7 separate regions of the Homo sapiens genome follow, and regions 2, 3, 4, 5, 6 and 7 are each linked to region 1. The links are contacts of gene promoters, found by promoter capture Hi-C in blood cells and fetal thymus (Javierre and others, 2016). All regions are on one chromosome and are shown on one strand. The core of a region is centred on a gene start or on the middle of the fragment in contact, and the rest is flanking DNA. Distances in the headings are between cores, read along the strand shown.

Region 1 (3,328 bases), core at 366-2,865:
GATTCCCATCAACTCTCAGAACTGTGTGGGGTTTCCCTGGGGCCTTGTGGAAGCCATGACTTCACAAAGACCCTACCTGTCAGTTCTTGTTTCTGGGGAGGAGGGATCACCTGCACTGAGAATGAGGCAGTTTGACACAGATCACAAAATAAAATCAAAGTCTTTTTGAATAGCCACTCTTGTGTCATCATTTGGTTATTGTCTTTGTGGAGCTACTAGGAAGGTTCTCATTGTCCTTCCTTGTGCTGGACAAGGGGTTTTTATGTGGAGGGCAGGTGAAACAGGAAGAGAACTGGCGACAGGTATACCTCTCCACTCATGAGCCATGGTAGTCCCTGCAGTGGGGACAACACTCAAGACTGTTGAGAGTAGTGGTTCTCGGGCCTAAGCAGGTCCTAGTCACCTAGAGAGCCTGATGAGCTGTGCACATTCCCAGGGCTGCCTGAGCTTTAGCCTTAGGGTTGCTAAGGAAGTTGCCTGGGAATTAGGAGCTGGAGGATCTTCATTTTTTTCAGATTTTTTGAGATGGAGTCTCACTGTTACCCAAGCTGGAGTGCAATGGCACAATCTTGGCTCACTGCAACCCCTGCCTCCTGGGTTCAAGCGATCCTCCTGCCTCAGTCTCCTGAGTAGCTACGTGAACGTGCCACCATCCCCAGCTAATTTTTGTATTTAGTAGAGATGGGGTTTCACCATGTTGGCCAGGCCAGTCTCAAACTCCTGAGCTCAAGTGATCTGCCTGCCTTGGCCTCCTAAAGTGCTGGGATTACAGGCATGAGCCACCGTACCTGACCAGGATCTTCATCTTTAACAAGTTCTGTAGGCAGCAGGGTCCTGGTACGGGTGACCTGCATCCCCTACCTTGAGCCCTGCCTATGGAGGAAGGACTGGCTTCTGAAGCTTTGGAGATAGCAATTGGTGTGCATGTGTGGTGGGTGAGAGCCTGGCTGACCACCACCCTCTTCTACAGTGTAACCTACAGTAGATTGCGTCATGAGAGTGTGTCCGCATCTGTAACGCCATGAAAGTCGTGAGGGTTAAAGGCATGGGCAGACAGCTTTGCACGGTGCTCAACAGCCACCATTTACTGTCATCATTGTGAATACCCAGAGGACAAATCATAAATACCAGTGAATGTTTACTGAGCACTTGCTGTGTGCTAAGTGTTTTCCTTGGGTTATCTCAGTAAAATTTTACAGCACCTAAAGTAGCTGCTGTTAAAGGCCTTTCTGACGGCCTTTCACGGTTGAGCCACAGAGATGTTGAGTAACTTGTCCAAGGTCACACAGCTACTAAGAGATGTACTTTTCCTATTCAGAGACCTAGGCAGGCTGGGAGTGGGAAAAGACAGAAACACTAAGGGAGTGGCTCAGTAAGAGGCAACAATTCCAGTGCCCACCAGGTGCCCCAAATGTTTCAGCATCATGGACAACTCTAGGGGGCTTGGGTTTCCACCCCAGAGACTTGCGCAGGGCAGACTCTACCAAGGTGTGGGTTGGAGTTGGGAGTCGGGGTGAGGTTCCCCGCTGGCTCCAGGCTGCTCCAATGGGGCGGGGGCCGCCCGCAGGGCCGGGCGGGGCTGTGCTGCCATCTGGAGCCGCTGCCGCCGGCGGCCACTGTCAGGGCGCGAGCGGCTGGAGCGCACGCAGGGCTGGAGCGAGTGCAGCCGCCGCCGCCGCCGACACCGCGGCACATGGGCCGGCCCCGCCGCTGCCGTCGCCCCTAGCCCCAGCAGCCCTGGTCTCGCAGCCTCCTGCGGCTCTGGTCGCCCGACCAGCCATGTCTCTCGGCGGAGCCTCCGAGCGCAGCGTCCCGGCCACCAAGATTGAAATTACCGTGTCCTGCCGGTGAGCGGGCCGCGCTGGGGAGGGCTTAGGCACTGGCACTGCCCCAGCCCCAGCCAGCCGCGGGGCTCAGCCTGGGCAGGGGCTAGACCCCCGGGGAGAGGCGAAATTGGCTGGAAAATCACAGCTGATGACAGGGCGAGTAGCTGGTGGGATCGAGAAGCGGGGGGTCTTGGGCAGCCCCACCCCGAAAAAAGGGCTCAGCCTGCGGGTTCAGGGGGTGGGTCGCAGATATCCGGTAGGAGCTCGGCCCCAGGAGGACAAAGTTCTGGGGCGAGCCCTCTTTCCTGGGCCCTTGGAGACAGTGTGGGTGCGTTCGCGTCCAGTCCGCAGAGCCATGGTTCCTGGACAGCGATTTCCGGTGCTGTCCAGAGTGCTGACAGAGCGGACCCCGGCTGGGGGTAGCCATGGGGGACAGAGGTTCGATGCGGGCCCCATGCCTCTCCTCAGTGCCCGGCTCAGAGCCGACTCGAGGCGGGCGGACTCCAGGATGATCCACTCTGTCTGTCTGTTGCTTTTCTCTAGGAACCTGCTAGACCTTGATACCTTCTCCAAGTCCGACCCCAGTAGGCGGCTCCAGGACCGGGAGGGGGAACTTGGGGTCTGGGCGCGACTCAGGGGCGGGTGGAGTCGGGGCCAGGGGTGGGAGCCGACCTGACGTCCTTCCCTCCCCGCCCCCACCTGCAGTGGTGGTGCTTTACACGCAGAGCCGGGCCAGCCAGGAGTGGCGGGAGGTGAGTCCCAGAGCCCCCTCCCGGCCCAGGGCGTCGCCCGGGAATTCCCCTGCCCGTCTGCACGTCCCACGCTGACCCTCCACCCCCCTACCCAGTTCGGACGGACCGAGGTGATTGATAACACGCTGAACCCAGACTTCGTGCGCAAATTCGTCCTCGACTATTTCTTTGAGGAAAAGCAAAATCTGCGCTTCGATGTGTGAGGCCCCGCCTGGAATTCTGGCTTGGCCCGCCCCCGACCTGGATCCGCCCGGAATTCTGGCTGGCCCCACCCCCGCCTCGCCTCCGGCCTGGTTCTTCTCGCAGGCCTCCCTCCCATTCTGAATGGCCCCCTCTAGCCTGAGCCCTGCCCTTTTATGAGATGCGGTCCAGTTCCGTCCCCCGCTCTGGCCCCGCCCACAACTCTGCTCCTATCGCAGCTCCACCTCAGGCCCGACCCCTTCCACACAACCCTGCCCCCAGCAGCCCCTGACTTGGCCTCGGCCCAGGCTTGACCGTCTGACTACTCAGCCCACCCTGACTCCTCCCCAAAAGGAGACCAAAGCTGAATTCGGGTCCACGGCCGCCCATCCCTCCACCCAAAATTTTCACCAAGACTCGGTGCCCGACCCCTTTCCACCCTCTCCCCCACCCAGCCCCACCCCACACCGGTTCCACTCTTTTCCCAGGTACAACGTGGACTCCAAAACCAACATCTCCAAACCGGTGAGCAAACGTTTCCTCGAGGGTTGGCGGAGCGCACAGGAGGCA
Region 2 (3,328 bases), core at 608-3,107, 230 kb after region 1:
AATGGCTTCATTGCCAAACACAGTGCCTGCCACATAGTCGGTGTTCCTAACTAAAGGCTTGATGGATAAATTAATGTATTACCTCTAGTGCTTAGCATAGAGCTATGCACATAATAGGCACTCTTGAAATGTCTGTTGAAAGAATAAATGAATGTGTCCTTAGAACTTAGCACATTCCCCAACACATAGCAGGTGCTTACACAAGTGATTGTGGAATGAATTAAAATTAATTATCCACCAGGCACAGTGGCTCACACCTGTAATCCCAGCACTTTGGGAGGCCAAGGTGGGTGGATCACGAGGTCAGGAGTTTGAGACCAGCCTGGCCTAACATAGTGAAACCCAGTCTCTACTAAAAGTACAAAAATTAGCCAGGCATGGTGATGTGCGCCTGTAGTCCCTGCTACTTGGGAAGCTGAGGCAGGAGAATCACTTGAACCCAGGAGGCGGAGGTTGTGGTGAGCTGAGATCACACCACTGCACTCCAGCCTGGGCAACAGAGTGAGATTCCATCTCAAAAAATAAAAAAATAATAAAAATTTAATTATCCAAGGTCTCTTGTGCTTGCCATACTGCTAAGACACAATGGTAGGCACTCATTAAAAGTCTGTTGAATGGGCCAGGCGCGGTGGCTCACGCTTGTAATCCCAACACTTTGGGAGGCTGAGACGGGTGGATCACTTGAGGTCAGGAGTTCGAGACCAGCCTGATCAATGTGGTGAAACCCCATCTCTACTAAAAATACAAAAATTAACCAGTTAGCCGGCCGTTGTGGCATGTTCCTGTAATCGCAGCTCCTCAGGAGACTGAGATGGGAGAATCGCTTGAACCTGGGAGGTGGAGGTTGTAGTGAGCCAAGATTGCACCACTGCACTCCAGCCTGGGCGACAGAGCGAGACTCTATCTCAAAAAAAAAAAAAAGTTTGTTAATGAAGATGTTGCCAGTGCCCAGCATTATGTTTGCTGGAAGAATAGATGTGAGCACCTCCAGGTTTTGTAAAAGGCAGGAAGACCCAGCAAGTGTTTGTGAAATACCTGCTGAATGAGTGCATCCCCACTGTCCAGCAGAGGGCCAGGCACATGCCCATGGAGGGGACCTGAGCAGACCCCCATTTCCTTTCCAGGTGTGGCCTCTGGAACCTGACTCCGTTAGGACGAACATCTGCCCCTTCAGGGAGGGTGAGCCGACCGGCCTGGGGCTGGGGTTGGGGTGTTGCGAGCGATGGGTACCTGGCCTGCGGTGACTGTGCCCTTTCCTTGCAGACCCCCGCGCACACCAGAACCTCTGGCAAGCCGCCCGACTGCAACTGCTGACCCTGCAGAGCTGGCTGCTGGACGCACCGTGCTCGCTGCCCGCAGAAGCGGCACTGTGCTGGCGGGCTCCGGGTGGGGACCCCTGCCAGCCACTGGTCCCACCGCTTTCCTGGGAGAACGTCACTGTGGACGTAAGTGAAGCAGAGGGCACCTCCCGTGGTGAGGGGAGAGTGGGGAACCGGGGGTCCCCTTTTGTGATCCCACCCATTCCTCTCTTTCCACAGAAGGTTCTCGAGTTCCCATTGCTGAAAGGCCACCCTAACCTCTGTGTTCAGGTCAGAAAGGGGTGCATAGTGCTGGGCTGGAGGCTGGACCTGGGCAGACCCCCCAGCCAAGGGGGTCTTAGTTCTTGGGCCGCTAAAGCATAGTGGTTGCCAGCTTCCTCTATGGGAGTTCCACTGCCTACTTTAGTAGTGCGCGGGACCCTGGGCAACTCACTTCACCTCTCTGAACGTCAGTTTCCTCATCTGTTTAATGCAGATGATAATACAGTAACTACCTCATGGAGTGGTTGTGACAATGAAATAAGAGAAGTGCTTCCCCTTAGGAATCGGTACAGACTAAATGCTCCATAAATGTAGCCACTTTTATTATTGCTATCCTTATTCTATTTCCATACCTGTAGAATGGGTTGCTCTACAGTTTCAAAGGGTGATTATAAGAACATTCACTCATCCGGCCAGGCGCGGTGGCTCACGCCTGTAATCCCAGCACTTTGGGAGGCCGAGGCGGGCAGATCACGAGGTCAGGACATCAAGACCATCCTGGCTAACATGGTGAAACCCCATCTCTACTAAAAATACAAAAAATTAGCCGGTCGTGGTGGTGGGCACCTGTAGTCCCAGCTACTAGGAAGGCTGGGGCAGGAGAATGGCGTGAACCTGGGAGGCTGAGCTTGCAGTGAGCTGAGAGGGCGCCACTGCACTCCAGCCTGGGTGACAGAGTGAGACTGGGCGACAGAGTGAAACTCCGTCTCAAAAAAAAAAAAAATTCACTCATTCAAGATTTTTTGAGCAGCACAAGTCACTGTTTTAGGCACTTGTGATAGACCCTAACATCTCTACCCTCATAGAACTTATATTGTAATGGAGAAAGGCAGGCAACAGACATTGTAAATAAATCATATAGTATCTTAAAATTGCATACAAATACCATGGGAAAGGGATAAGGTGGGACTGGGGTTGCAATTTTTAGCAGGGTGGTCATGTGAGAAAGGAATCTCTTTGAGAAGGTTAGATGAGAGGGGAACCATGCTCCGTAAGACATAAAAACAGCTTTAGGGTCAGAAGACGCTTTATACAGATGATCTCACAAGGCTGGGGCAGAGAAAGATGTAGTGATTCCTAATCACCCAGCCTTGAATCCACATCTGCCTCAGGTCAGATTGAGTGCAGATTCCCAACCCAACAGGCCTTCTGTTGCCTGCCCCATTCTGGTCTTTCTGCCTTTGGCTTTTGCTTTTCTTAGTGGCCCTAACCATGGTCTCTTCCCAGCAGGTGAACAGCTCGGAGAAGCTGCAGCTGCAGGAGTGCTTGTGGGCTGGTGAGTTGGGCCTGGGGGCAGCTGGGGCAGGGCCACCTCCTAGGGGTGAAGGTCAGGGCATGGGAGGCAGGCAAGTGGCCAATCCCAGCAAGGATGGGTCTTGGTCAGAGTGGCCTCTCACCCCTTCCAGACTCCCTGGGGCCTCTCAAAGACGATGTGCTACTGTTGGAGACACGAGGCCCCCAGGACAACAGATCCCTCTGTGCCTTGGAACCCAGTGGCTGTACTTCACTACCCAGCAAAGCCTCCACGGTTAGGACTGGGCGACCCTCCTCCACAGATCTCTCCAAATGCATCTCACATCTGGCCTCAAATTTTCACTCCATCCACCCTGTGCCGGTCTCTGGGAACATGGGGGGTGACTCAGACCAGGGCCATATTCAGCGGCATCACCAAAGTCTCCCAGTCCCCTCTACCTCATTCTACCCAGCTGTAGCCTGGTAGGTGCTGCCCTAAGGGTGCTACCTCCAGG
Region 3 (3,328 bases), core at 244-2,743, 220 kb before region 1:
CTTCCTTCGCTTTTTATGATTGCAGTCAGGACAGTGTGAAGGCAAACCTGCAGCAGGGCAAGTGAACATTAAAAACTGCCTTGAACTTGAGTGGTGTTCCTGACCTTGGCCTCATTCATTCAGCAACTATTTATTGGTCTTTTTCATTCAAAAACAATGCTGGACATTGTTTTTGGTGCTGGGCTTATGGTGATTAGAATGCTGATTGGGGGTGGGCAAAGTAAGGTCTCTTCTTTCATGGAGTTTACATTCTAGTGGAGGAGAGAACTAAACTAGTATATAATTTTAAATAGTCATTGCCATGTTAATTGTTTCATAGCAGATATGTGACTAAGACAGTTGAAGGAGCCACTCTAGATTGGTTGGTCAAGAAAAGTCTCTGAGGAGTTGACATTTAAACTGAGACTTCAGTGACAAGGAGGCAGTCCTGGGACGATGTGAGTGAAATTCATTCTTGAACGTTGCAGACTCTGTGGTAGAAAAAGCTTGGTTAAGATGTAATAAATGGATGGGGCTGGGAAAGAGGATAGAAGATCCTGTAAGAGGGAGATAGGGGACAGATCATGTAGAGCAGGAGTCGGCAAACTCTTTCTATAAAGGGCCAGATAGTAAATATTTAGACTTTGCAAGCCATGTATGGTCTCTGTCATAACTATTCAGCCCTTTGGCTGGGTGCGAATCATGCCTGTAATTCCAGCACTTTGGGAGGCCCAAGAGAGCAGATCACTTGAGGTCAGAAGTTCGAGACCAGCCTGGCCAACATGGCAAAACCCTGTCTACTAAAAATACAAAAATTAACCAGGTGTGGTGGTGCGCACCTGTAATCCCAGCTACTCAGGAGGCTGAGGCAGGAGAATCTCTTGAACCTGGGAGGAGGAGGTTATAGTGAACCAAGGTCACTCCACTGCACTCCAGCCTGGGTGATGGAGCGAGACTCTGTCTCAAAAAAAAAAAAAAAAAAAAAAAAAAAAACAACTATTCAGCTCTTCCATTGCAGTGCAAAAGCAGGCATAGACAGTATGTGGCTATGTTCCAATAAAACTTTATTTACAGGAAACAAGTGGCAAGTTGGATTTGGTTTGCAGGCTGTAGTTTGCTGGTCTCTAATGTAGAACCTTGTAGGTATAATTTAAATAATCTGCATTCAGTAAGTACAGTGGAGGAGTCATTGCAGGATTTTAAGGAGAGAAGTGACATTGTCTAATTTATATTTGGTTGATTTTTAAAAATTACTCTGATTGTTTTGATCCTGTTGGTGAAGAGATGAATAGGAGCTGAGAAACTGGTGTGGAAGGTAGAGCAGTTGTTCAGGCAAGCAACAATGCAGTGGTGGCTTCTATTAAGACGGTAATGATGGGGATAAGAAGTGATTGGAGTCAGGATATGTTTTGCAAGTACACAGCAGAACTTGCCAATGGATTGAATTGGCAGTATTCTAACATTTGTTTGACAAATGTTTACTGAGTAACTAAGGTAGACTGCAGTTTGCAAAGCACATAAGGGATTCAAAGATGAAGATGCTATTTATTAGTTGAAGGAGTTTAGAAATGGAAGGCTGGGCGTGGTGGCTCATGCCTGTAATCCCAGCACTTTGGGGGGCCAAGGCAGGCGGATCACAAGATCAGGAGTTTGAGACCAGCCTGAACAACATGGTGAAACCCTGTCTCTACTAAAAATACAAAAATTAGCCGGGCGTGGTGGTGCGTGCCTGTAATCCCAGCTCCTTGGGAGGCTGGGGCAGGAGAATCGCTTGAACCCAGGAGGCAGAGGTTGCAGTGAGCCGAGATCGTGCCACTACACTCCAGCCTGGGCGACAGAGCGAGACTCCGTCTCAAAAGAAAATAGAAAGTGGAAACATAACAAAACCACTTGTTTTATTAGAAGATCCCTCCAAAATGCCCTAGGAATACCTAGGTAACCTACCACCAACCACAACCTGATTCTACCTGGGTTAGGAAGAGAATAGTGTGCATGATCTTTAGAAAGTGTTTCCATATACAGTGTCTTATTTTGACTCATAATTCTGTGAAGAAAGCAAGCCAAATGCCAGAAGTTAAAGATGAGAAATTGAGACCTAGTACAGTGTTTCAGCTATAGCACTGGGCTTCTGATAATGAATAAAACTAACTGATTTCTGCCATAATTGGAAGGTTCTGTTCCATGACCATTGGCTGAACACCTACTGTGTGCTAGGCTATATCTGAGGTGCTGAGAATATCAAGGTAAGACAGTCAACTGCCCATTCAGAGTTAACCTATTTGCTATTCTTTTCAAGTACTTACTGTGTTGCTAGGGACTTTGCTTTTGATATGGTGTAAATCAGAGGTGTCCAATCTTCTTGGCTTCCCGGGGCCACACTGGAAGAATTATTCAACATGTAAAATACACTAACAATAGCTAATGAGCTTAAAAATATATATATATTTTAAGAAAGTTATGATTGTGTTAGGCCGCATTCAAAGCCATCCTGGGCCACGTGCAGCCCGTGGTCTGTGGGTTGGACAAGCTTGGTGTAAATAGAAGCTAGACAATATTAATTAAAGAGGCCAGTGCAACAGTGGCACCTTCTATGTCACTTTACACTTTCCTGGACTCCACTTAAGTCATCAGCTACCTCATTTACATGTAACAATGTGCAAGGTAGGTATAAGTTCAGAAGATACAACTTATTCAAGATTTCTCTCTTTTAAGTGGCAGACCCAAACCAACAGTTTTGGAAATTTTGCAGTTAACCCAGAAAACAAATAGAAACAGCTAGAGATGCTGTGACACTATGACCAGAAATCACTTACCTAGCTGAAAAAGTATATGGTACCCTTTACTGTCTTAAAAACAGCAGTCTGGCCCTTTTGCCCCCCAGGTGTCAGTTTGACAGTGTAGGGTTCTCTGTTTAGCAGAGGTTACCATGAAGAAAAAAAAAAAATGCAGTTGTCCAAACGAAGCAGGCCCTTTGCTTTTAAACTGCACTGATGACAACCCGCATAATCTGCTGTGAGGCTCAGAGAAAGGAGTTGACCGAGGGTTCGTTCTGTTTTTATTTTAAGAGACAGGGTCTCACTCTGTCACCCGGGCTGGAACGCAGTGGCATAATCGTAGCTCACTGCAGCCTTAACCCTCCAGGGCTCAAGCAATTCTCCTGCACCACCACGCCCAGCTAATTATTTTTTTGTAAAGACAGGGTCTTGCCATATTGCCCAGGCTGGGCTCAAACGATCCTCCTGCCTCAGCCTCTAAAGTGCTGGGATTACAGGCATGAGCCGCCACACCTGGCCTGCCAGGGGTTCTTAAAATGGTCAGTTCTAAAGATAGATGATGGAAACAGTTTGGA
Region 4 (3,328 bases), core at 292-2,791, 210 kb before region 1:
TTGGCTCTCCCCACACTCCTGAACATGCTCTTATCAAGTTTCAGGGGTGGCCTCCTTGTCCCCAAATCCAATGGACACATTTTTCAGTCTCTTATACAGGACCTCTGTGCTCGACTTGACCAGCTGACTTTCCCCTTAAACTCTACATCCTTGGTTTCTATAAAGCCACACTCATGATTCTCCTCCTGACCCCTCTCCTTTGTGGACATCTGTTCCTCTGACAGTGCTTTATCCTGCAGTGCTCTCCAGCATTCCAGAGCTCCATGCTCTCTCCACACCACACAGTCGCCCAGAGCAGGCTCCTCTATGCTTCCAGTTTCCACCACTACCTGGATACCGATGCTTCTGACCCAGATTTTTCTCTTGAGCTCCCAAATCCATATGTCAGCTGACTGCTGGACAACTCCACCAAGGCATCTCACATGCATCTTAAACTTAGCACATCTCAAACGGAACTGATCATCTTGCTCCCCTGCTATACTGGCAGATCTTTCTAGTCCCCAAGCAAAAACTTTAACCCTCTTTTTGCCAGCCTGTGTGTTATTCCCATAGTCAGTTGGTTCCCTTCTACTTCCTGAAGATGGAACTTCTTACTTCTCTTAGACCCACTGCGACCTCCTTGTTTCAGGCCAGGCTTCTGGTTTCTCTTTTACTGAAGTGGTCTCTGATATGGTTTCGCTGTTTGTCCCCACCAAACCTCATGTTGAAATGTCATCCCCAGTGTTGGCGGTGGGGCCTGGTGGGAGGTGAGTGGATCATGGGGGTGGGTCCCTCATGAATGGTTTAGTGTCATCCCCTTGGTGATGGGTGAGTTCTCGCACAGTTAATTCACACACATGAGATCTGGTTGTTTAAGAGCCTGGGACTGCCCTCTTCTCTCTGTCTTGCTCCTGCCCTTGCCGTGTGACACGCTGGCTTCCCCTAACCTTGCACCATGATTGTAAGCTTCCTGAAGCCTCACTAGAAGCAAATGCCAGCAACATGCTACCTGTACAGTTTGCAGAGCCATGCGCCAAAATAAATCTCTTTTCTTTATAAATTGCCCAGTTTGGCCAGGTGCAGTGGCTCATGCCTGCAATCCCAGCACTTTGGGAGACTGAGACAGGAAGATTGCTTGAGCCCAGGAGTTTGAGACCAGCCTGGGTAACATAACAAGACCCCGTTTCTATAAAAAATTATAATAATAAGGCCGGGAGCAGTGGCTCACGCCTATAATCCCAGCACTTTGGGAGGCCAAGGTGGGTGGATCACGAGGTCAAGAGATCGAGACCATCTTGGCCAACATGGTGAAACCCCATCTCTACTAAAAATACAAAAATTAGCTGGGCGTGGTGGTGCACGTGTGTAGTCTCAGCTACTTGGGAGGCTGAGACAGGAGAATTGCATGAACCCGGGAGACAAAGGTTGCAGTGAGCTGAGATCATGCCACTGCACTCCAGCCTGGCAACAGAGTGAGACTCCATCTCAAAAAAAAAAAGAGATAGCCAGGCATGGTGGTGCCTATGGTCCCAGCTACCTGGGAGAATGAGGTGGGAGGATTGCTTGAGCCTGGGAGTTGAGGCTACAGTGAACTGTGATCTCACCACTGCACTCCAGCCTGGGTGACAGAGCAAGACCCTGTCTCAAAAAAATAAAAATAAATTATGCAGGCCAGGTGCAGTGGCTTATGCCTGCAATCCCAGCACTTTGGGAGGCTGAGGCGGGTGGATCACTTGAGACCCGGAGTTTGAGACCAGCCTGGCCAACATGGTGAAATCCCATGTCTACTAAAAATACAAAAATTAGCCGGGTGTGGTGGTGCACACCTGTAATCTCAGCTACTCAGGAGGCTGAGGCAGGAGAATCACTTGAATCAGGGAGGCTGAGGTTGCAGTGAGCTGAGATTGTGCCACTGCACTGCAGCCTGGGCAACAGAGGGAGACTCCATCTCAAAATAAATAAATAAAACAAATGATGCAGTCTCAGGTATGGCTTTATAACAATGCAGAAATGGGCTAACAGTCTACCCCTAATCCAGCCCCCTAATGCTACCACCAGAGTGCTCTTTCTAAAATGCAAATTGAGTCATTTTTCCTTCTGCTTCAAATCCTTCAGTGGTTCCCCATTGCTCTTAAGTCCAAACTCCTGTCCATGGCCCCCAAGCTTTCTCATGGTCTGGCCCTCGCCTGTCTCTCTAGACTCATCTCTGACTCCTCCCTGCCTCGTACTTCACATTTCAAACTAAGTTGCTTTTCGTCCTCCATACACAGTTCTGCTGCCTACCTCAGTCTTTTTCCTCAAGCTGCCTTCTCTTTGACCTTCCTGACCCCTCCTGCCTAACTTCTCATCCTACAGCAAGACCTCCTCCTACGCTGCCCACGTCACCAAAAGCCATTTAAAGTATTCCTGCCTAGGATACCCACAATACCCTGCATGTGGCAAGTCATGCGTTATTTTCACATGTTCATCTCCCCAACCAGAATTATGCTTAAGACAGCATCTCTGTTTTGCTCATTTTTTTTCTAGCTTAAGTGCTTAGCATACACTAAGTGCTTAAAATGTGTTGGAAGAGGACTCCATTTCCAAGTCTTCAATGTAGCTACCTGGTACTGCGCACATTACAGCGTGCCAGATACCCTGCAGAGCAAAGTGCATATATTCCCTGGTATGTTGCTTACAGCTTCCCTTGGGGGAGTCACTATTGTTTTCTCTATTTATTCAATGGGGCTTTAGAGAGAGGCAAAGTGACTGGACTGAGCACTCTGGCTAGAGCAGATGAGGCTCTACTCTTTTCTGCCTGTATGGACTTGGACAAGTCGTGCCTGTGCTGTCAGAGGTGTGCAGAGATTACTGTATCCCTCTCTCTATTCACTCCTTTCTCCTTTGTATCAGAACCCTATTTTTTTTTTTTTTTGAGACGGAGTCTTGCTCTGTTGCCCAGGCTGGAGTGCAATGGCGCCATCCCACCTCCCTGCGACCTCCGCCTCCTGGGTTCAAGCAATTCTCCTGCCTCAGCCTCCTGAGTATCTGGGATTACAGGCACGCACCACCATGCCTGGCTAATTTTTGTATTTTTAGTAGAGACAGGGTTTTGCCATGTTGACCAGGCTGGTCTCAAACTCCTGACCTCAGGTGATCCACCCACCTCAGCCTCTGAAAATGCTGGGATTACAGGCATGAGCCACCTTGCCCGGCCAAGAACCCCAGTTTTATTTGGGCTGGCAATGCGCCGAGATAACAGACCACACTTTTTCAGCCTCCTTTACTGTTATGTGGCCCAAGTGACACAGTCCTATGGAATTTCCAGAAGTCTTCAAATGAAATGTGGACCAGGTGACTGGAGCTCCAG
Region 5 (3,096 bases), core at 1-2,500, 200 kb after region 1:
TGCCAGGTAGGGACACCTGCCTGGCACAGCCATAAAGCTCCCCACTCCCCTGCCTGCCCTGTGCTACCTCCGCAGTCCCTGTGCTCTGGTGGCAGCTTTGATGTGTCCTCTACCTAGTCTCAAAGGGGTAGCCAAGGTCCTTTGTGCTGAGGGCCTGGACAGGGTGGAGCTGGGAAGATAAGAGCCAGAAGGTATGGGCTATTAGCTATGGGGCTCAGAATTTGCTGATTTGAAGCAAAGACCCCAGGAATGTGCCTTATGGGAGTCTCTCCTAATAATAGCTCTTTCCTTTCTTTTCCCTACTGGGCCCTGTGCCTCAGGATGACAGTTTCACTGGTGAGTCGCATTTCCTGCCCCATTGCTCCTCCCCACGCCCACTATTTTTGCAGATGCCTAGCAAGCCCTCCATTCTAATTTTCAGTTCCCAACCCGGGAAGTAGCACAATATCAAGGAAAAATTTGGAATCATGACAAGCCTGGGTTCACATTGCAGTTCTGCCAGACTCCCGTGTGGCCTCAGACTGTGCACCTAACCCCTCCAACTGACCCTCAGTTTCTGAGGGGTAGTAGCATAGTAGAAATGATTGTACACTAAAGGCAGTGTTGCTTCTGATCTGTAGAGAGGATTAGATGAGAAACATGAGTAAATCTCCAGGTTCTCCATATATGTTGGCTCCTCCCCTTAACTGATCCCTCACTTCTATCAGTAATACAACAATAATCCTTCCTATTTTATGGTATGTTCTACTTCACAAGACATTTTCCCATACACTACAATTTTGATTTTTATAACAGACCCGCTTTATGAATGAGGAATCTGATCCTTAGACAGGTCCTGTAACCCCCAAAGTCATACTTCCAGGATGTGACAGAGCTTGGCCTCAAATCCAGCTTGTTGGAGGTAGGAGGGACCTTCTTAGACCCTATCATTTGCTTTCCCTTCCATCTTTCCCAGGAAGTTCTGCCTATATCCCTTGCCGCACCTGGTGGGCCCTCTTCTCCACAAAGCCTTGGTGTGTGCGAGTCTGGCACTGTTCCCGCTGTTTGTGCCAGCATCTGCTGTCAGGTGGCTCAGGTATGAGAAACAGCCCCTTGGGCCATTCTCAGTGAAGAGAACATTTTGAGGGACCACCTAGGCTGAGCAAGTGGGACTTACTAGAACAGATATTTGTCTTGTTTTAACCTCAACTGGGACTTGGATTATCCTAAAATAGCACGCTATGACTGATATTCACAAATACAATTGTACAATTTTATGAAGGTTTTTTTTCAGCTGAGATTCTTGGAATTAAAAGCTATGGATTTATTGTTATTACCATCTATTTGTAGAGCAGGATCTTCTTTCTTACTCTATATTTTAATTGCTCAGCTCAGTGCCTGGTACATACTAAATGCCCTTACATTGCTTAAGAATTGGCAGTTTCTAGGCCAGGCGCGGTGGCTCACGCCTGTAATCCCAACACTTTGGGAGGCTGAAGCAGCCTGATCACCTGAGGTCAGGAATTCGAGACCAGTCTGGACAACATTGTGAAACCCCTGTCTCCACTAAAAATACAAAAAATTAGCAGGGCCTGGTGGCAGGCACCTGTAATCCCAGCTGCTCAGGAGGCTGAGGCAGGAAAATCACTTGAACCCAGGAGGTGGAGGTTGCAGTGAGCCGACATCATGCCATTGCACTCCAGCCTGGGCGACAAGAGCAAAACTCCATCTCCAAAAAAAGAATTGGCAGTTTCTGGGCCAGGTATGATGGTTCACACCTGTAATCCCAGCACTCTGGGAGGCCAAGGTGGGTGGATCGCTTGAGTCCTGGAGTTTGAGACCAGCCTGGCCAACATGGCCAAACCCCATCTCTACAAAAAAATACAAAAATTAGCTGGATGTGGTAGTGCACACCTGAAGTCCCAGCTACTTGGGAAGCTGAGGTGGGAGGATCACCTGAATTCAGGAGGTGGAGGTTGCAGTGAGTTAAGATAGCGCCACTGCACTCCAGCCTGGATGACAGTGTGAGACCCTGTCTCAAAAAAAAAAAAAAAAAAAAAAAAAGAATAGGCAGTGTTTAATTTTTCTAATTGTTTGTTGTTAGAAATAATGCTACAGGGCTGGGCACAGTGGCTTATGCCGGTAATCCCAGTACTTTGGGAGGCTGAGGCGGGCAGATCACCTGAGGTCAGGAGTTTGAGACCAGCCTGGCCAACATGGTGAAACCCCGTCTCTACTAAAAATACAAAAATTAGCCAGGTGTGATGGTGCATGCCTGTAATCCCAGCTACTCAGGAGGCTGAGGTGAGAGGATTGCTTAAGCCCAAGAGTTCAAGACTGCAGTGAGCAGTGATTGTGCCACTGCACTCCAGCCTCCATGACAGAGCAAAATCCTGTCAAGAAAGGAAGGAAGGAAGGAAGGAACGAAGGAAGGAAGGAACAAAGGAAGGAATGAAGGAAAGAAAGAAAAGAGAGAGAGGCAGGGACTGGCGTGGTGGCTCACGCCTGTAATCCCAGCACTTTGGGAGGCTGAGGTGGGCAGATCTTGAGATCAGGAGATCGAGACCATCCTGGCTAACATGGTGAAACCCCGTCTCTACTAAAAGTACAAAAAATTAGCTGGGCGTGGTGGCAGGCGTCTGTAGTCCCAGCTACTCTGGGGGCTGAGGCAGGAGAATCGCTTGAAGCCAGGAGGCGGAGATTGCAGTGAGCCAAGATCGCGCCGCTGCACTCCAGCCTGCGTGACAGAGCAAGGCTCCGTCTCCAAAAAATAAAAATTAAAGAATGCTAAAATGAATATCTTTGTATATATAGCTTTTTCTCTGCTTAAGAAATTAATCTTTTCTTGATTGCTTTATAATTTTCAAGATTAAAGAAGCTTGACATCCTTACCCTCCTTGATTTAAAACGACTTACTATCAGGCCGGCTCATGCCTGTAATCCCAGCACTTTGGGAGGCCGAGGCGGGCGGATCACCTGAGGTTGGGAGTTCGAGACCAGCCTGACCAACACGCAGAAACCCCGTCTCCACTAAAGATACAAAATTAGCCGGGCATGGTGGCACATGCCTGTAATCCCAGCTACTTGGGAGGCTGAGGCAGGAGAATCACTTGAACT
Region 6 (3,328 bases), core at 213-2,712, 180 kb before region 1:
AATTGAGCCGGGTTCACATATTTGCTCTGTCTCTTCAAACTGTGTTTTTGCCTTTTAGTATCCCTTGTAATTTTTTTCTTGATAGCTGGAAATAATGTACTGGGTAAAAGAAACTGCTGTAAGTAGGCTTTTAGTGATGTGGTGGTAAGATGTGGGAAGAGGGGAAGCATTCTATAGTCCTACAAAGAGGTCTCCGTCTTTTAGTGAGCCTTTGCCCTGGACTGTTAATTTCACAAATGCTTCTAAGTTGTTGCTGTTTTTTTCTTGCCCTCCTTAGGTGGGACAGCATGGCTAGAGGCAGATGGAGTTTCCTTCCCCCAAGATCAGTTAGCCTCTCTCTGATAATCCCAGCAGGTTAGGCTCTAGTCACCTAGTTTCTCCCAAGGACAGGCCTGGCATACATCAGAATTGTTCCTTTTTCCCTGCTCTTGCCAGAACCATGAGGGGATTTTTCTTCAATATTCACCGTAAGAACTTGGTAGAGCTTCAGGAAGTAAAACTTACAAAAGTGTGGGAGCCCCCCTAATGACTGGGTCCCCTGGGAGTTTTTAATGTCTCACACTTGTCCACACAGCCTCCAGCAATTTGTCAATTACAATTCAGTTTTCCCTTGCCTGGGCATTGGTTCCCATAAAGGTTTCTGCTCATGGGTTCCTTCTGCTCCTGTAAGTTGTGATTCTCTGCACTCACCTGTCTGTCGCTCCAATTTTGGGGGCAGCAGTTTGCCCTGTGACCTTACGTCTCTCATGGATCTAGCAAGAGTGTTTATTTTTCAGTTTGTTTGGCTTTTTACTTGCTGTTAGGATGGAGTAGCAGCTTCCAAGCTTCTTACATCCCTGACCAGAAACCAGAAGTCCACTCATCTGTGTTTTTTATAAAAAGGATATGCATACTATGAAATGCATTGCAACAATGAGAAAGAATGGGTAGCACTTTAAGGACTGAAAGAGCAAGATTTCTTTGACACAACGTCATCTGAAAAAAAGCAATCATAATTTTAAAAAAAATCCAACGTGCTTATACGTTTGAAAAAATGGGAAAAAATGGGAAACATGCCAGACACTGTTTTAACTGTTTTATGTGTATTAATTCATTGTTACCTCATTTTTATATGTTATGAAACAGGCACAGAAAGGTTAAATGATGAGTCTGACCTAGCCTTCCTGGGGCCTGAGTCCATGCTCTTAACTACCTCTCTTTTTCTGACATATTGAGCAGGTAGAAAGACCATACGTAGGCATGATCCCTTTAGTTTTAAAAAAAGTAGGGGATGGTATATACATACAATGAAATATATTGAACCTTAAAAAGGAAAGAAATTCTGACACATGATACAACATGGAGGAATCCTGAAGACACTTTGCTAGGTATATAAATAAGCCAGTCATGAAAGGACAAACACTGTATGATTCCATTTATATGAGCTACCTAGAGTAATCAAATTCACAGAGACAGAAGGTGAAATGGTAGCTGCCAGGGCTCGGGGGAGGGAGGAATGCGGAGTTAGTGTTTAATGGGCACAAAGTTTCAGTTTTGCAAGATTAAAAGAGTTCTGGAGATGGATGGTGGTAATGACTGAGCAATAATGTGAATGTACTTGATGCTAGAGAATTGTGCACCAAAAGACAGTAAAAATGATAAATTTTATGTCATGTGTATTTTACCACAATAAGAAAATGCGGGAAAAAAGAATGTCCCCGTACAAATCTGACAATAGTTTGAATAACTGTCTTTATTTTGCTCACAATTGTAGTCGGCTGTGGTCTAACATCCCTCATATCATCTCCCTCCTTCAAGCATCTCTTAAAATGATGGTGAATGTAATGAGTTTAATTGCGTTCCCTCAAAAAGATATGTTCAAGTCCTAATCCCTGGTACCTGTGAATGTGATCTCATTTGGAAACAGGGTACCTGCAGATATAATTAAGACACAAGACAAAATAAGGTCATTAGGGTGGGCTCTAAGTCCAATCACTGGTGTCCTTATAGGAAGAGAAGAGAAACACACACACACGTGAAGACCAGAGATTGGAGTGATGCTGCTGTAAGTCAAGAACACAAAGGAAGGCTGACAGCCAAAAGAAGGGAGATGAGATCAGGGAAGCTTCCCTCCCAGAGTCTGCAGGGGGCATGAGGCCCTGCCCACACTTTGATATTGGACTTCTTAGCCTCCAGAACAAGAATAAATTTTTGTTGTTTTAAGAAAAAAAGAAAAAAAAAGGTTAAAATGGTAAATTTCATGTACATGTATTTCACTGAAAGGAAGGAAGGAAGAGAAGGAGGGAGGGAAGGAGACAGAAGGAAGGAAAGGAAAGGGAAGGGAGAAAGAAGTAAGCAGGGGTACACAGAAGATGACATGATATAGTTTCCTTATGGATATATATGTAAATGTGCAGAAAAAGATCAGGGAAGATAGAAATGAAGTTTATAAGAGTGGTGGCCTCTGGGTGGGGCTTGGGTGGGGACTTTAGTCTTTTTGTAATATTTCAGCTTTTTACAGAGTGGGTATATTCATATATTACTTGTGAAATTTAAAAACATAATTTTGACCAGGCATCGTGGCTCATGCCTGTAATCCCAACACTTTGGGAGGCCAAGGCAGGTGGACCACTTGAGCTCAGGAGTTTGAGACTAGCCTGGGCAACATGGCAAAACTCTGACACTACTAAAAAAAATAATAATAATACAAAAAGTTAGTGGGCATCGTGGTGCATGCCTGTAGTCTCACTTATTTGGGAGTGCTGAGGTGGGACGATTGCTTGAGCCCAGGAGTCAAAATCAGCCTGGGCAACATGGTGAAACCCCATCTCTACAAAAAATTAGTCAGGCATGGTACAAGCGCCTGTAGTCTCAGCTATTTGGAAGGCTGAGGTGGGAGGATTGCTTGAGGTCAGAAGGCAGAGGTTGCAGTGAGCCAAGATCATGCCACTGCACTGCAGCCTGGGCAACAGAGCCAGATGTTGTCTGAAAAACAAAAACAAAACCCATATACAGTAGACTAGTGTGGCGGAATAATTTTTTTAAAAACCCAGAAAACCAATAATTGTACAAATTAATTTTTCAAATACAAACACACACACACACACACACACACACACACACACACACACAGAGGCATACCCTGGGGATATTGCGAGTTTGGTTCCAGACCACCGTAATAAAACAAATATTGCAATAAAGCAAGTCACACAAATTATTTGGTTTCCCAATGCATATAAAGTCATGTTTACACTATATACTAATAGTGTGCAATAGCATATGTCTAAAAAAAACCCAATGTGTATACCTTAGTTTTAAAATACTTTATTGCTAAATTATCATCTGAGCC
Region 7 (3,328 bases), core at 439-2,938, 160 kb after region 1:
CAGCCACCATGCTCTGCTAATTTTTTTTTATTATCTAGTGTAGAGACAGGGTCTGGCTATGTTGCCCAGGCTGCTCTTGAACTCCTGGCCTCAAGCGATACTCCTGCCTCAGCCTCCCAAAGTGCCGGGATATCCGGCATGAGCCACTGCACCTGGCCAAGTTTTTAAATCTTTCAGTCACAGACTAAATAAAACAGTCACCTACAAGTTCTACAAGTTCAGCCTTTTTTTTTTTTTTTTGAGATGGAGTCTCGCTCTGTCACCCAGGCTGTAGTGCAGTGGCACGATCTTGGCTTACCACAACCTCTGCCTCCCAGGTTCAAGCGATTCTACTGCCTCAGCCTCCCAAACAGCTGGGAGTACAGGCGCCTGCCATGCTGGCCAGCTAATTTTTTTGTTTTTAATAGAAACCGGGTTTCACCATGTTGGTCAGGCTGGTCTTGAACTCCTGACCTCAGGTAATCTGCCTGGCTCGGCCTCCCAAAGTGCTGGGATTACGGCGTGAGCCACCATGCCCAGCCTAAGTTCAGCCTTTCATGCTTGTCTTGAGTTGTCCAATACTGGAAAATGCCAGCTCACACTGATGAGAAGCTCCTACTCTTTGGGGCTACCTATGAGCCCACTTTGAAATCCCGAGGTTGAAAGTCCTGAACATGAAAGATAAGCTGTCTGGCAAGTTAGGATGGGCATTGATGGAGAAATGCCTTACAGCTTGAGTAGTACTTTTTCACCTAACCACTTAAACGGTTATTATAAAATGGGACACTGAGAAATTAGAAGAGTGACTTAATCCCACCTGCTCAATTGAAGCTCCTCTGATAGGTGAATTTAATTAGGAAATTGTTACTTATGGTATCAATTACATGGTCAGCTCAAGCCTCAAATTCAGCTGACTTTAGTTTCAAAATCAACTGCAATTTTGTTTTTTAAGGAGCCTGGGGTCTTGCTATTGTGCTCCAGCCTGGCCTTGAACTCCTGGTCTCAAGGGATGCTTCCACCCCAGCTTGCTGAGTATCTGGGACTGCAGGCACGTGTCACTGTGCCCAGCTGTTTTTTTTTTTCTTCTTTGGTAGAAAAAGTGCCATTAGCTGTAATCCTACATTAAAGAGAATACTTTGACAATAGATTCGTCTCTTCCTTTAGCCCCCTCCAACCTTCCAGATAAAACCCCACCCCAAAGAACACAGGCAAAGAAGATACATCAGCCTCAATAATTTATTGCAAACTCCCTAATATCACATGCTAGTGCGCTTGCGAATTCACTCAGGAATGTTCCGGGATGGGGGCCAGAAGGTAGAGAGCACCATGAAAGTACAGCCTGCGAGGCCAGATTGCTAAGGGGCAGACTTCATGCCAATGGAGGGACAGACTTCAGGACCAGTCTGGATGGGCTAAGCTGCCTTGGGCAGGAAGGAGCTGGATCAGGCCAGGAGCTTGAGGTTCTCCTTTGGCCAACCCACCCCAGGTTTCCAGCTCCTCCTCCTCACTCAGGGTCCTGCGCGGTGAGGGAGGTGTGGGGAGGTTCGCGGCTCTACAGCTGCCAGGCTTGTGGGCACTACCAGTTAAGCGTGAGGCCCCCAGTCAGTCCTTCACTGGGGAAAGCTTCCAAGGACTTGGGCTTTCACTGCAGTATCTTCAGACAGGTCGGGATAAGGGATGAGGCCTTGCCCTTGGGGGGCTGCCCTTCCTCCGTAGCATCGAGGAGCTGCTGCAGGTAACAGGAGGTGCCAAGCAGTACGTGGCCTGTGGCCTGCATGCTGAAGAGGGCCCAGCGGAAAGCTTCCCTGGGTGGAATGAGAGGGCACGCAAGTCAAAACCACGAAGTAGGTCGGGCATGGCGTTCACGCCTGTAATCCTAGCACTTTGGGAGGCCATGGAGGGCGGGTAACCTGAGGTCAGGAGTTTGAGACTAGCATGGCCAACATGGCGAATCTCTGTCTCTACTAAAAATACAAAAACTAGGCAGGCATAGTGGTGGGTGACTGTAATCCCAGTTACTCCAGAGCCTGAGGCAGGAGAATCGCTTGAACCCAGGAGGCGGAGGTCACAGTGAGCCGAGGTGGCACCACTGCACTCCAGCCTGGGTGACAGAGCAAGATTCAGTCTCAAAAAACAATCAAACAAAAAACACAAGGCTGGGCTTGGTGGCTCATGCCTGTAATCCTATAACTTTAGGTGGCCGAGGTGGGTGGATCATTTGAGGTCAGGAGTTTGAGACCAGCCTGGCCAACATGGCGAAACCCCGTCTCTACTAAAAAATACAAAAAATTAGCCGGGCGTGGTGGCAGACACCTGTAATCTCAGCTACTCGGGAAGCTGAGGCACGAAAATCACTTGAACCTGGGAGACAGAGGTTGTAGTGAGCTGAGATTGTGCCACTGCACTCCAGCCTGGGTGACAGAGTGAGTCTCTGTCTCAAAAATAAATAAATACATAATAAATAAAAACAAGAGTGTACCCCCTCCCTGCACCCCCTTATTCCCATGCTGGCCTGGAAGGGATTGGTTTCATTATGTTTGTTTTCTTCATTAATAACATTTGAATACCACTGAGGTGGTAGCACTAAAAGCATTTCATCAATTCTAGAGCGATGTGCAAATAGGAACAGATGCTGCAGATGGGATCAAGATTAGTGCGAGGACCTGCAATTCCACCTTAACTGAGATGCCCGGAACCTCCCTACTTTCTCATGCAAAACCCCAGCTCATTTCATAAGGCTTTTATTTTTCTACTACTACTTTGGACCAACCAGATTAATCTCCATAACATGGTTCTGCACCTTGAGACACTCTGTTCTAGACTCTGAGGCCTGTCCAAGCCACCTGCAGTCTAGCTCATGTTCAGAGTGCTGGACATGAAGACATCCATGCCTGGCATGAGCATGTACTGAGAACAGAACCTGAATCAGGCAGGCCTAAGTCCTAATCCAGTCTTATTAGCTGGGTGAACTTCAGCAAACTGCTCTAGCTTTGAGCTTCAGCTTCCTCATGGGTAAAATGGGATTGCACCTGCCACCCAGGGTCATAAGGCTGAAATAGCATAAAGCAATTAACATGGGGTTGGATGTTTGGAAAGTAGGGGAAATGGGGAAGCGGGAGCGGGTTCTAACCTCACATATTCTCATGCTTCTTGAGACATTTGGTTAGACTTTCAAAAATAAGTTTTAAGAAAAGTTCATTATATAGTACAAATGACTCTGGTCCATAAGACTTGCAAATTAATTCTGTCATATGGAGGGAAGATTATTTCATCCCTCCCATTCCCACAGGGGAAAAAGCCCAATTTTGTATGTATACATTTATCTCTCTTTTTCTTCGTTTTAGAGACA

What was found. Contacts are between HindIII fragments. The CHiCAGO score rates a contact against its expected background, and 5 or more counts as called.
Region 2: a fragment that was not itself captured here is called in contact with the fragment with the promoter of CPNE9 in region 1 in 1 of 17 cell types (M0 macrophages); the score reaches 6.3 in M0 macrophages.
Region 3: a fragment that was not itself captured here is called in contact with the fragment with the promoter of CPNE9 in region 1 in 1 of 17 cell types (megakaryocytes); the score reaches 5.5 in megakaryocytes.
Region 4: a fragment that was not itself captured here is called in contact with the fragment with the promoter of CPNE9 in region 1 in 1 of 17 cell types (megakaryocytes); the score reaches 5.5 in megakaryocytes.
Region 5: a fragment that was not itself captured here is called in contact with the fragment with the promoter of CPNE9 in region 1 in 3 of 17 cell types (monocytes, neutrophils and M0 macrophages); the score reaches 5.5 in monocytes.
Region 6: a contact is called between a fragment that was not itself captured here and the fragment with the promoter of CPNE9 in region 1, in 1 of 17 cell types (megakaryocytes). The highest score is 5.3, in megakaryocytes.
Region 7: a contact is called between a fragment that was not itself captured here and the fragment with the promoter of CPNE9 in region 1, in 1 of 17 cell types (neutrophils). The highest score is 5.7, in neutrophils.

The regions. Positions count from the first base shown.
Region 1 is chr3:9,702,218-9,705,545 of GRCh38, forward strand. CPNE9 (copine family member 9) reads left to right here and starts at 1,616. Exons shown (of 21, transcript NM_153635.3): 1 at 1,616-1,847; 2 at 2,370-2,410; 3 at 2,532-2,578; 4 at 2,674-2,777; 5 at 3,247-3,283. The coding sequence starts at 1,780. MTMR14 (myotubularin related protein 14) reads left to right here. Exons shown (of 19, transcript NM_001077525.3): 19 at 1-176. RefSeq lists an enhancer at 1,255-2,165. The HindIII fragment of the contact is 18,760 bases long and covers 899-3,328 here.
Region 2 is chr3:9,927,042-9,930,369 of GRCh38, forward strand. IL17RC (interleukin 17 receptor C) reads left to right here. Exons shown (of 19, transcript NM_153460.4): 10 at 1,125-1,179; 11 at 1,264-1,445; 12 at 1,539-1,589; 13 at 2,811-2,856; 14 at 2,987-3,108. Among named protein-coding and RNA genes, the nearest start is that of CRELD1, 5.1 kb to the right of the region's middle. RefSeq lists an enhancer at 1,322-1,821. The HindIII fragment of the contact is 6,275 bases long and covers 1-3,328 here.
Region 3 is chr3:9,478,279-9,481,606 of GRCh38, forward strand. No RefSeq gene overlaps it. Among named protein-coding and RNA genes, the nearest start is that of LHFPL4, 74 kb to the right of the region's middle. The HindIII fragment of the contact is 2,021 bases long and covers 484-2,504 here.
Region 4 is chr3:9,494,745-9,498,072 of GRCh38, forward strand. No RefSeq gene overlaps it. Among named protein-coding and RNA genes, the nearest start is that of LHFPL4, 57 kb to the right of the region's middle. The HindIII fragment of the contact is 1,197 bases long and covers 944-2,140 here.
Region 5 is chr3:9,903,077-9,906,172 of GRCh38, forward strand. It overlaps IL17RE (interleukin 17 receptor E), which reads left to right. Exons shown (of 16, transcript NM_153480.2): 2 at 321-336; 3 at 956-1,075. Among named protein-coding and RNA genes, the nearest start is that of IL17RE, 1.8 kb to the left of the region's middle. RefSeq lists an enhancer at 1-645. The HindIII fragment of the contact is 3,209 bases long and covers 1-2,855 here.
Region 6 is chr3:9,524,740-9,528,067 of GRCh38, forward strand. All of the region lies in intron 2 of LHFPL4 (LHFPL tetraspan subfamily member 4), which reads right to left. Among named protein-coding and RNA genes, the nearest start is that of LHFPL4, 27 kb to the right of the region's middle. The HindIII fragment of the contact is 1,280 bases long and covers 823-2,102 here.
Region 7 is chr3:9,865,513-9,868,840 of GRCh38, forward strand. CIDEC (cell death inducing DFFA like effector c) reads right to left here. Exons shown (of 7, transcript NM_001321142.2): 7 at 1,202-1,784. The coding sequence ends at 1,622. Among named protein-coding and RNA genes, the nearest start is that of CIDEC, 13 kb to the right of the region's middle. The HindIII fragment of the contact is 177 bases long and covers 1,601-1,777 here.